Linked DNA regions of Homo sapiens: regions 1, 2 and 4 are each linked to region 3. The links are contacts of gene promoters, found by promoter capture Hi-C in human tissues and cell types (Jung and others, 2019). All regions are on one chromosome and are shown on one strand. The core of a region is centred on a gene start or on the middle of the fragment in contact, and the rest is flanking DNA. Distances in the headings are between cores, read along the strand shown. Region 1 has its middle 230 kb from the start of POTEA. Region 2 overlaps LOC105379397 (a long non-coding RNA gene). Region 3 holds the start of POMK (protein O-mannose kinase). Region 4 has its middle 130 kb from the start of POTEA.

Evidence for each region. The method cuts DNA at HindIII sites, captures the fragments that hold promoters and counts their contacts. A contact is called where the count stands out against the background at its distance.
Region 1: a fragment that was not itself captured here is called in contact with the fragment with the promoter of POMK in region 3 in 2 of the 25 tissues and cell types used here (aorta and mesenchymal stem cells).
Region 2: a contact is called between a fragment that was not itself captured here and the fragment with the promoter of POMK in region 3, in 2 of the 25 tissues and cell types used here (dorsolateral prefrontal cortex and lymphoblastoid cells).
Region 4: a fragment that was not itself captured here is called in contact with the fragment with the promoter of POMK in region 3 in 1 of the 25 tissues and cell types used here (lymphoblastoid cells).

Annotation. Positions count from the first base shown.
Region 1 is chr8:43,517,951-43,520,650 of GRCh38, forward strand. No RefSeq gene overlaps it. Among named protein-coding and RNA genes, the nearest start is that of POTEA, 230 kb to the left of the region's middle. The HindIII fragment of the contact is 3,220 bases long and covers 1-2,700 here.
Region 2 is chr8:43,487,072-43,489,771 of GRCh38, forward strand. All of the region lies in intron 1 of LOC105379397 (a long non-coding RNA gene), which reads left to right. Among named protein-coding and RNA genes, the nearest start is that of POTEA, 200 kb to the left of the region's middle. The HindIII fragment of the contact is 3,474 bases long and covers 1-2,700 here.
Region 3 is chr8:43,092,075-43,094,774 of GRCh38, forward strand. It overlaps POMK (protein O-mannose kinase), which reads left to right and starts at 1,441. Exons shown (of 5, transcript NM_032237.5): 1 at 1,441-1,489. RefSeq lists enhancers at 405-1,311, 1,312-2,217 and a silencer at 1,469-1,678. The HindIII fragment of the contact is 5,704 bases long and covers 1-2,700 here.
Region 4 is chr8:43,423,307-43,426,006 of GRCh38, forward strand. No RefSeq gene overlaps it. Among named protein-coding and RNA genes, the nearest start is that of POTEA, 130 kb to the left of the region's middle. The HindIII fragment of the contact is 3,630 bases long and covers 1-2,700 here.

The sequences.
Region 1 (2,700 bases), core at 83-2,582, 430 kb after region 3:
CACAGCTTTGGGGCCTGCAAGCTATAAGCTTTGGTGGCTTCCACATAGTGTTCAGCCAGCGGGTGTGTAGAGCATGAGACAAGAGGCTTTGGAGCCTTTGTATAGATTTTGGAAGATGTATGGAAATGCCTGGGTGTCCAGGCAGAAGACTGCCAAAGGAGGAGAGCCTCATGGAAAACCTCTACTAGGGCAGTGCAGAAGGAAAATATGGGGTTGGAGCCTCCACACTGGAGGCCACCACTCTCAAAACCTCAGATTCATACACCCCCAACAGCTTGTACCCTTAGAGGGGAAAAGCTACAGGCACTCAACACCAGCCTAGCCCATGAGAGCAGCCATGGTCACTAAACAGTGCAAAGACACAGGTGCAGGTCTGCCCAAGGCCTTGGGAGCCCAGCCCTCACACCCCTGTGCTCTGGATTTGGGACAGTGAAGCAAAAAGGATGATTTTGGAGCTGTAGGATTGAAAGACTTGACTGCTGTGTTCTGGAATTTCATGAGGCCTGTAAGTCTCATCTGCTTTTGTTCTTTCTGGCAAAATTCTTCCTTTTGGCTGGGAATGCTTACCCATTGCCTGTGCAACCATTGTACCTTGGAAGTAGATAACTTGCTTTATATTTCAGAGGCTCATGGGCAGAAGGGAGTGTAGCCTGTGTCAGATGAGATTTTAAGCTATAAACAATTATGTAAATGCTGGAAAGGGTTAAGATTTGGAGGACTGTAGGGAAGGCAACATTGTATTGTGCAATGTGAGGAGGACACGAGATATTGGGGGCCAGGGCAAAATAATATGATTTTGCTCTGTGTCCCTACCAAAACTCATATGGAATTGTCATCGGGAATGTTAAAAGTGGGGCCTGGTGGAAGGTGATGTAATCATGGATGAGAGTGGGGGTTGGAAGTTGGGAGGTGGTTGGGAGAATGGCAGGGATTATGGTGGTGGGGGAGGGAAAGGTCGGGGTGGTGTGAATCCTTCACAAATGGTTAAACACCATCTCCTTCATGCTGTCCTCATGATAGTGATTCTCATGATGATTTTGGAGCTGTAAGATTGAATGAATAGTGGCTGGCTGGATTTTGGGCTTGCATTGGGCCTGTGGTCCCATTTGTGTTATTTTCCTGGGAAATTTCTTCCCTTTGGATTGAGAAAGCTTACCCAATACCTGTACCATCATTGTACCTTGGAAGAAAAGAACTCCTTTTTAAATTCAGGGACTCATTTGCAGCCTTATCTTATATGAGACAATGAACTTTTTACATTTGAATTAATGCTGAAATCAGTTAAGATTTTTGGAAACTTTTGAAAAGAAATGATTGTATTTTGCTCTGTGAGAAGGACATGAGATTCAGAAGGGTCGAGGTCAGAATAATACGGTTAGGGTATTTGTCCCTACCACAACTCATGTGGAATTGAAATCTCAAATGCTTGAGGTAGGGCCTGGTGGGAGGTGATATAATAATGGAAGGGAGGGGGGTGGGGGTGCAAGGAAAAAGGGGTGGGTAGGGTGGGGAAAAGTAGGTTTTCAGTAGGGTGGTGGGAGGGTGAAGGGTAGTAGGAAGCAGAGTAGCCTGCTGTAGAGACAGAGCCTCATAGAAAAACTCTACTAGGGCAGTGTGCCGTGGATTCACAGGGTTTAGCCCCCGTGGCTGCTCTCATGGGCTGGGCTGGTGTTGAATGCCTGTAGCTTTTTCACATTGAGGGTGCAAGCTGTTGGTGGGTCTATGAATCTGGGGTCTGGAGGATGGTGGCCCCCTGTGTGGGGGCTCCACGCCCATATTTTCCTTCTGCAGTGCCCGAGTAGCAGTTTTCCAAGAGGCTCGGCCTCTGCAGCAGGTTCTGCCTGAAAACAGTGGTGGGTGGGTGTGGGAGAAGATCCCTCACCCATGGTTAACCACCGTCTTCTTGATGTGGGCCTCATGATAGTTCTCATGAGATCTGGTTGTATAAAAGCATGTGGCACCTCTTTCCTCTTTCTGTCTTTCTCCTACTCCTGCCATTTGAAACATCTCATTGCTCCTCAGCCTTCTGGTATGATTGGGAGGCTTCCTGGGTCCTCCCAGAAACAGAAGCCACTCTGCTTCCTTTACATCCTACAGAAACCAGAGCCAATTTAACCTCTTTTCTTTATGATCACACAGAAAATTAGTACTGCAAAGTGGAGCTATGAAATGCCTTCAAGGCCTTTTCTTCATTATCTTGCCTGTTAGCATTGGCCTACCTTTTTTATGCAAAGATCTGAAGCTTTCTTGAATTTTCTCCCTGAAAATGGGGTTTTCTTCTTTTACCACATTGCCAGGTGTGACTAAATTAGCTGAAAATGTAGAAGCAGGTTCAGAAGTGGGTAACAGCCAAAGGTCAGAGAGTTTGGAGGGCTTTGAAGAAGATAGGGACATGACAGAAAGTTGGACCTATTGTAGAAATGTTTTAAATAATTATGATTAAAAGGTTGACAGATGTATAGTGAAGGCCAGGCTTAGAAGGTCTCAGTTGAAAATGAGGAAGTTATACTGGGAATAAAAGCCCAGGTCACTTTTGTCTTACCATAGCAAAGAACTTAGCCGACTGGTGACCCTGCCCTCAAGATATGTGAATCTTTGATCCTGAGGGTAAAGATTTAGGGTGTATCTGGGTGGAATGAACTTCTATGCAGCAAAGCTCAAGAGGTGTCCTGTCTGTGTCAAACAGCCTGTGCTCTTACG
Region 2 (2,700 bases), core at 151-2,650, 390 kb after region 3:
GTCTTGGGATGATTCCAGCACATTACATTTATTGTGCTACTTTATATTATTATATTGTAATATATAATGAAATAATGATACAACTCTCCATAATGTAGAGTTAGTGAGATCCCTGAACTTGTTTTCCTGTCACTGGATGTTCTCATCTGGAGGCAATGGGAGAAAGTGACAGATCATCAGGCATTGGATTCTCATAAGAAGCACACAACCTAGATCCCTAGCATGTACAGTTTATAGCAGGGTTCATGCTCCAATGAGTATCTAATTCTACCTCTGATCTGACAGGAGGTGGAGCTCAAGTGGGAATAGGAGAAATGGGGTGTGGCTGTATATACAGATAAAGCTTTGCTGGCTTACCTGCCACTCACCTCTTGCTGTGTGGCCTGGTTCCTAACAGGCCATGGGCTGGTACCAGTTTGTTGCCCAGGAGTTGTGGACCCCTGCGCTAGGTGGTCCTACCATAGATAAGAAAGTAAAAGTAAGGAAGTTTTTATCACAAAAAAAAAACAGTTTGAAAAATCACTGTGTATAAATTGCATGTATATATTTTACAATTTTTTTTGAGAGTAGGTTCGATTTCAGAATTATTTAAAAATTTCATTTTAGGTGATTTATAATTTCAAATATCTGAAAAATTTAATTATGGTCTCTAAAATCTTGTATAATATTTTTATGTAAATAAGAAAAACACAAGTTAGTACATGGTATATCTTTTTTACGGTCACATGATAACAAATTGGACTTGTTATACAATTGAATCTTCTATTTAATTATTTAAATAAATGGTTTGCTTTGAGCAAATGAATGTTAATTACAGTTGACCCTTGAACAGTGTAGGACTTAGGGGTACCAATCCTCCATGCAGCCAAAAATCTATGTATAACTTTTGACTTCCCTCATAACTTAACTACTAATAGCCTACTGTTGACCAGAAGCCTTATTGGTAACACAGTCAGTTAAGATGATATTTGGTGTGTTATAAGTATTGTATGTTGTATTTGTACAATAAACTGGAGAAAAGAAACTGTCGGGAAGAAAAAATATAATTAATATCAAGTGGAAGTGGATCATCATAAATGTCTTCATCCTTAATCTTCAAGTTGAATAGGCTGAAGAGGAGAAAGAGGGAGGTTGGGCTTGCTGTCTGAGGTGACAGAGGTAGAAGAAAATCTGCATATGAGTAGTAGACCCCTACAGTTCAAGCCTGTGTTGGTCAAAGGTTAGCTATATTACACTGAGGTTTGTGTCACTAAAAAAGTAACTATCTTTAAAAGTGGAAACTCAGCAATACCTTTCTAATACCATAAGCAAATGAGAATGAGAACTGCAAGACTTAGTCAGTGTGCAGCAACACCAATGAGAAATTATTTTTTTTAAAGATACCTACAGAAGTGTCCCTGTCTGACAGCTTTGAAGAGAGCAGTGGTTTTCCCAGCATGCAGCTGGAGATCTGAGAATGGGCAGACTGCCTCCTCAAGTGGGTACCTGACCCCTGACCCCTGAGCAGCCTAACTGGGAGGCACCCCCCAGCAGGGGCAGACTGACATCTCACACATCTGGCCAGGTACTCCAACAGACCTGCAGCTGAGGGTCTTGTGTGTTAGAAGGAAAACTAACGAACAGAAAGGACATCCACACCAAAAACCCATCTGTACATCACCATCATCAAAGACCAAAAGTAGATAAAACCACAAAGATGGGGAAAAAACAGAGCAGAAAAACTGGAAACTCTAAAAAGCAGAGTGCCTCTCCACCTCCAAAGGAACGCAGTTCCTCACCAGCAATGGAACAAATCTGGACGGAGAATGACTTTGACGAGCTGAGAGAAGAAAGCTTCAGATGATCAAATTACTCCAAGCTACGGGAGGACATTCAAATCAAAGGCAAAGAAGCTGAAAACTTTGAAAAAAATTTAGGAGAATGTATAACTAGAATAACCAATACAGAGAAGTGCTTAAAGGAGCTGATGGAGCTGAAAACCAAGGCTCGAGAACTACCTGAAGAATGCAGAAGCCTCAGGAGCCAATGCAATCAACTGGAAGAAAGGGTATCAGCGATGGAAGATGAAATGAATGAAATGAAGTGAGAAGGGAAGTTTAGAGAAAAAAACAATAAAAAGAAACGAGCAAAGCCTCCAAGAAATATGGGACTATGTCAAAAGACCAAATCTACATCTGATTGGTGTACCTGAAAGTGACGGAGAGAATGGAACCAAGTTGGAAAACACTCTGAAGAATATTATCCAGGAGAACTTCCCCAATCTAGCAAGGCAGGCCAACATTCACATTCAGGAAATACGGAGAATGCCGCAAAGATACTCCTTGAGAAGAGCAACTCCAAGACACATAATTGTCAGATTCACCAAAGTTGAAATGAAGGAAAAAATGTTAAAGGCAGCCAAGGAGATAGGTCGGGTTACCCACAAAGGGAAGCCCATCAGACTAACAGCGGATCTCTCAGCAGAAATTCTACAAGCCAGAAGAGAGTGGGGGCCAATATTCAACATTCTTAAAGAAAAGAATTTTCAATCCAGAATTTCATATCCAGCCAAACTAATCTTCATAAGTGAAGGAGAAATAAAATACTTTACAGACAAGCAAATGCTGAGAGATTTCGTCACCACCAGGCCTGTCCTAAAAGTGCTCTTGAAGGAAGCACTAAACATGGAAAGGAACAACCGGTACCAGCCACTGCAAAATC
Region 3 (2,700 bases), core at 191-2,690:
CCCAATTTATTGGTGTATATTCACACTGTTGTGCAACCATCACCCCCATCCATCTCCAGGACTTTACCATCTTCTCACACTGAAACTGTGCACCCGTTAGTATTTTTCATGGCTATGTGGATGTAATATAATTTCTTTCAGAAACCCCTATTGTTATACATTCAGGTTTCTTTTTTTCTCTATTATAAATATCTTTTATCAGCAATGCTTCAGCAAGATCTCTTGTGCATACATCTTGCAGACATATTATTTCTTTTTCTTTTTTTTTTTTTTTTTTTTTGAGACGGAGTCTCGCTCTGTCACCCAGGCTGGAGTACAGTGGCGCGATCTCGGCTCACTGCAAGCTCCGCCTCCCGGGTTCACGCCATTCTCACGCCCGCCACCATGCCCGGCTAATTTTTTGTATTTTTAGTAGAGACGGGGTTTCACCGTGTTATCCAGGATGGTCTCGGTCTCCTGACCTCGTGATCCGCCCACCTCGGCCTCCCAAAGTCCTGGGATTACAGGCATGAGCCACGGCGCCCGGCCACAGACGTTATTTCTGAAGGATAAATTCCTAGAAATGGATTTGCTAGGGCACGTAGGAGGAATTCCAATTTACACTCACTTGTATGTGTGAGGAAACTTTCAGACTCTACTGTAACGACAGGAGGTATTACCGCTGTTTGTCCATGTGATAGGCAAACGTTTCTGTTAATTTTAATACTGTTTGGATAGCTAGTACCGGCTCAGTTTTTTTAACCCACACCATGTTACTGTCTTGATTCTGGACTTTCGCAGTGTGTCAGTGTAGAAGCAGCTAACGCTTCCGATGTACACAACCTAGACGTTCCATGACCCAGCTGACTTCGATGCTGCAAGCCTCCCTTTCGGTTTCCCGGAGCAAGCGCCCGAGTGCGTGTTGGGCTCCCGGCAGGGCTCCTGGCCGGCCCTCGACGGACTTCCCCGCCTTTGCCCAGTCCTGCCCCTCCGCGGAGGCTTGCCAAGGTCTTGTCTGCTGCGCTTGATGTGTGCAGCTCAGCTTTACTGCGTCTAGGCTAAGCCCCACAGTTTCTTTTACAGAGCGATTGTCCAACTTCAGGCATCTGGGTCCCCGAGTGGCGGGTCTGGGCCGGAGCTGGGAATCAGCCTTTCCAGCAAGGTCCCTGCAGATGCCGCGGGTCTGAGGACTACGCTTTGGAAGGCCTCGCAGTGCGTCTAGATCTGACAGCTGCTCTGCATGAGCCTGGCTCCAGGCTGAAGCAATAGTCGGTCAACACAAAATCGTTCTCCCAAGTTAGGGAAGCAGAAGCCAGACAGGGAGACTGGGTAGGTGCGCGCTGGTACCGCCGCGGCGTTCGCTCCGGCTTCAGTGCACGGCCGGAGGAGGACGCCAGGGGGCAGCAGCGCCACGCTCACCCGCCCAGGACGCGCTTCCGAACGCGCAAGCGCAGTAGGCCCAGTGCGTGCTGGCCCGGGGTGGCAGGAGCCGCAGAGGCTTGGGCTGCAGGTAGGTGCTGCGGCGAGGGGTGAGAGGGCGAAGGGGCGAGGGGGCGTGCAGCTGGGTTTCCCGGGGGACCCTGTACGTGGCCTGGGCCGCACCCCCCGCAGCCCCGGCCGCCTGCCCGCGGCCTGTCCGGAGGCTCCCTAGGAGGCTGCGCTGGGCCTGAGCGGCCGTGTCCACCGCGCCCAGCCCCTATCTCCGCGTCCACCCCTGCGCGGTAGCGGGACGTTAAAGAACCAGAGAAGGGCCCGGCGAGGTGGCTCCAGCCTGTAATCCCAGCGCTTTGGGAGGCCGAGGCGGGAGGATCGCGTGAGCTCAGGCGAGAGCAGCCTGGGCAACATGGCGGAACTTCTGTCTCCGTAAAAAAGCACTTAGCCGGGCGCGGTGGCGCCGCCTATAGTCTTATCTACTCCGGAGGCTGAGGCGGGAGAATGCTTGAACCCGGCGGGGGCGGAGGTTTCAGTGAGCCGAAATCGCGCCACTGCACTTCAGCCTGGGGGCCAGAGTGAGAGGCTGTTTCTATTATTATTACTTTATCATTATTATTATTATTTGAGACGGAGTCTCGCTCTGTCGCCCAGGCTGGAGTGTAGTGGCGCGGTCTTGGCTCCTGGGATTACAGGCGTCCGCCACCACGCCCGGCTAATTTTTGTATTTTTAGTAGAAACGGGGTTTCCCCATGTTGGTCAGGCTGGTCTCGAACGCCTGACCTCAGGTGATCCGCCCGCCTCTGCCTCCCAAAGTGCTGGGATTACAGGCGTGAGCTACTGGGTCCGGCAGAGGCTGTCTCTGTTTAAAAAAACAAAAACCAAACCAAACCAAAACAAAACAAAAAACAAAAAAACCAGAAAGGACCGAGGACTCTGTCTCAGCTCTTTGCCTTTGGGTGTTTATTCTGCACGAGATCATTGTTGCCAGGAGGTGTTAAGTGTAATCATATTCTCTTTTTTTTAGAAAGCAAAATTTCGCTGTTTTGTTGCATAATCTTGTCTTTGCCACCCTTTGCCTTTGCTATAGAACCTTAAGGCTAAATAAGCGTTCAGAATATTTAAAATAATCCTCTTAATGTACCTTGTGCTTTATTGGCGCAATGGAATTCTACTCTAAACTGTATTGGATGACATTACTCTGTGTCTTCCCTAGTTGTAGAAAATATCTTGTAAGTCGGTAAAAACTAGTTTTGTCCCTTTGCTTTTCTTTTCTTTTTAAGCTGTAAA
Region 4 (2,700 bases), core at 187-2,686, 330 kb after region 3:
AGGGACAGGAGGATCTTCACTGGGAGGCAGGTTTCACAGGTCCAAACAATTCTGTAGTGAGTGACAGCAGCCACTGTGGCTCAGGACCAAAACTACCAGTTCCTGGGATACAGTGTTAGCTACCTGGCCAGATGGAGTCCACTCTTAGTATAGCATTAGAAGGGTACTCAGTGGGGAGATTGAGACTAAAAGGCTGAGAAAATACTGAATGGGAAGAACTTCTCAGTAGTACCTGATGCCCAGTGAGTGGGGTGGGGGGTGATTTCATTGCAAATTTTAGAGATTAAAAAGCCAGGAGTATCTCAGATGACAATAATTGGGAAAGAAGATAAGCGAATAAGCCTTTAACCCACTCTGGTGCCATAGTTATGATAAATCCCATATGGTCAAATTTAATCTCTTATGACAGGTTTCTCTCAATGTAAGGGTTTTTTTTTTAATGTGATATAATCTATATAACGTAAAATTCACTGTTTAAAAGTGTAGAATTCAGTGATTTCCAGCATATTAACTATGTAGTGCAACCATCACTATTGTCTCACTCTAGAGTATTTCTGCCACCCCCCCAAAAAAAACCCTGTACCAATTAGCAGTGAGTCCCAATTTTTCCCTTCTCTCATCTCCTAATGACCAGAAATCTGCTTTTTGCATCTACAAATTTACATAGTCTGGATAGTTCATGTCAATTGAATCACGTTATATGTAGCCTTTTGTGACTGGCTTCTTTCCATTAGCACAGTGTTTTCAAGATTCATCTATATTGTATCACATAGCAATATTCATTTCTTTTTATAGCTGAATATGTTTTGGATATATACCACATTTTATTCATTTATGCATCAGTTGATGGGCATTACATTGTTTCAGTTTTTTAGCAATTATGCATAATGCTGCTGTGAACTTTTCTGTACAACTCTAATGGATTTTTAGGGTAATGCTCATATACCCCAGACAAGCATCTCCTGTAGAGATCTTTTACCTCCTTGGGCAGATGTATTCCTAGGTTTTTATTTGTTTTATTGTTTGTTTTGGCTATAAGTGGGATTGCATTCTTGATTTGGTTCTCAGCTTGAATGTTGATGGTGTATGGAAATAATACTGATTTTTATATGTAGATTTTGTATCCTGAAACTTCACCACATCATTTGTCAAGCCTAGGAGTCTTTTGGAGAAATCCTTTGGGTTTTCTATGTACAGAATTATATGTTCAGTGAAGAGAGATAGTTTGACTTCTTTTTCTATTTGGATGCCTTTTATTTCTTTCTCTTGGCTGATTGCTGTGGTTAGGATTTCCAGTACTACATTGAATAGGAGTGGTGTAAGTGGACATTCTTGTTTATTCCAGTTCTAAGAGGGAATGTTTCTAAATTTGTCTTTTCATTATGATGTCAGCTGCAGGTCTGTCACAGATGGCTCTTAATATTTTGAGGTATGATGCTTAGTTCATTGAGGGTTTTTATTATAAAGGGGTGAGTTGATCAGCTATTTAGTAAAGTTGAAACTAATATTTCTTTTTCAGATACTTTTGAGTTTCTATAATGACCTTTACAACAGTATATACTAGGTTCTAGAACATAATTATGTTTGCGATAACATTACTAGCAAATGGGATTGCTTTATTTTCTAAAACGTGTGGGTGCGGAAAACATGATGTTCAGTTTTGTATGTTCTAGTAATGCATTTGATCCTTAAAAATGAGGCTTCTGAGTTGACTTAGGAGTGAACAAACACAATTTCTGAGGTCCTGAAGAAACTGCAGCCACTCCTGAGAAAGAGTCAGGCTGTAGCTGCTGAAAGAATGCAGATATGGAGAAAATTCATCTAACTGAAACTGAAGAGAATGAGAAGTTGGAGAGAATAAGTTTAGAATTTAAGTTGGGATTTGAGACATTAATTTCTTTGGATTCATACTGCACAACAAAGACAGCAGGAATTTTTCAGACTTTAGCTTTTATGGATTTTAAGGTTAAGAATTTGAATTTTTTAAAGCTTTTAATATTTGAATTTAATTATAATTCCTGGGAAACTATTAATGAGAGGGAAATTATATTTAATTTTGGAGTATCAATATGTGGTGACATACGATTATTGGACTATCTTACGGTCATTATTTAATATCATTGCAGAAGCTTTGAAAGGATATATTAGGTAATATGGCTGGATACAATTTAAGATAGGAAATAGAACAGAAGTGAAGTTCCAGCTTTACTGATCTCTCAGCAGAAACTCTACAAGCCAGAAGAGAGTGGGGGCCAATATTCTTAAAGAAAAGAATTTTCAACCCAGAATTTCATATCCAGCCAAACTAAGCTTCATAAGTGAAGGAGAAATAAAATACTTTACAGACAAGCAAATGGTGAGAGATTTTGTCACCACCAGGCCTGCCCAAAAGAGCTCCTGAAGGAAGCACCAAACATGGAATAGAACAACCTGTACCAGCCACTGCAAAAACATGCCAAATTGTAAAGACCATCAAAGGCTAGGAAGAAACTGCATCAACTAATGACCAAAATAAACAGCTAACATAATGACAGGATCAAATTCACACATAACAATACTAACCTTAAACATAAATGGGCTAAATGCTCCAATTAAAAGACACAGACTGGCAAATTGGATAAAGAGTCAAGACCCATCAGTGTGCTGTATTCAGGAAACCCATCTCACGTGCAGAGACACACATAGGCTCAAAACAAAGGG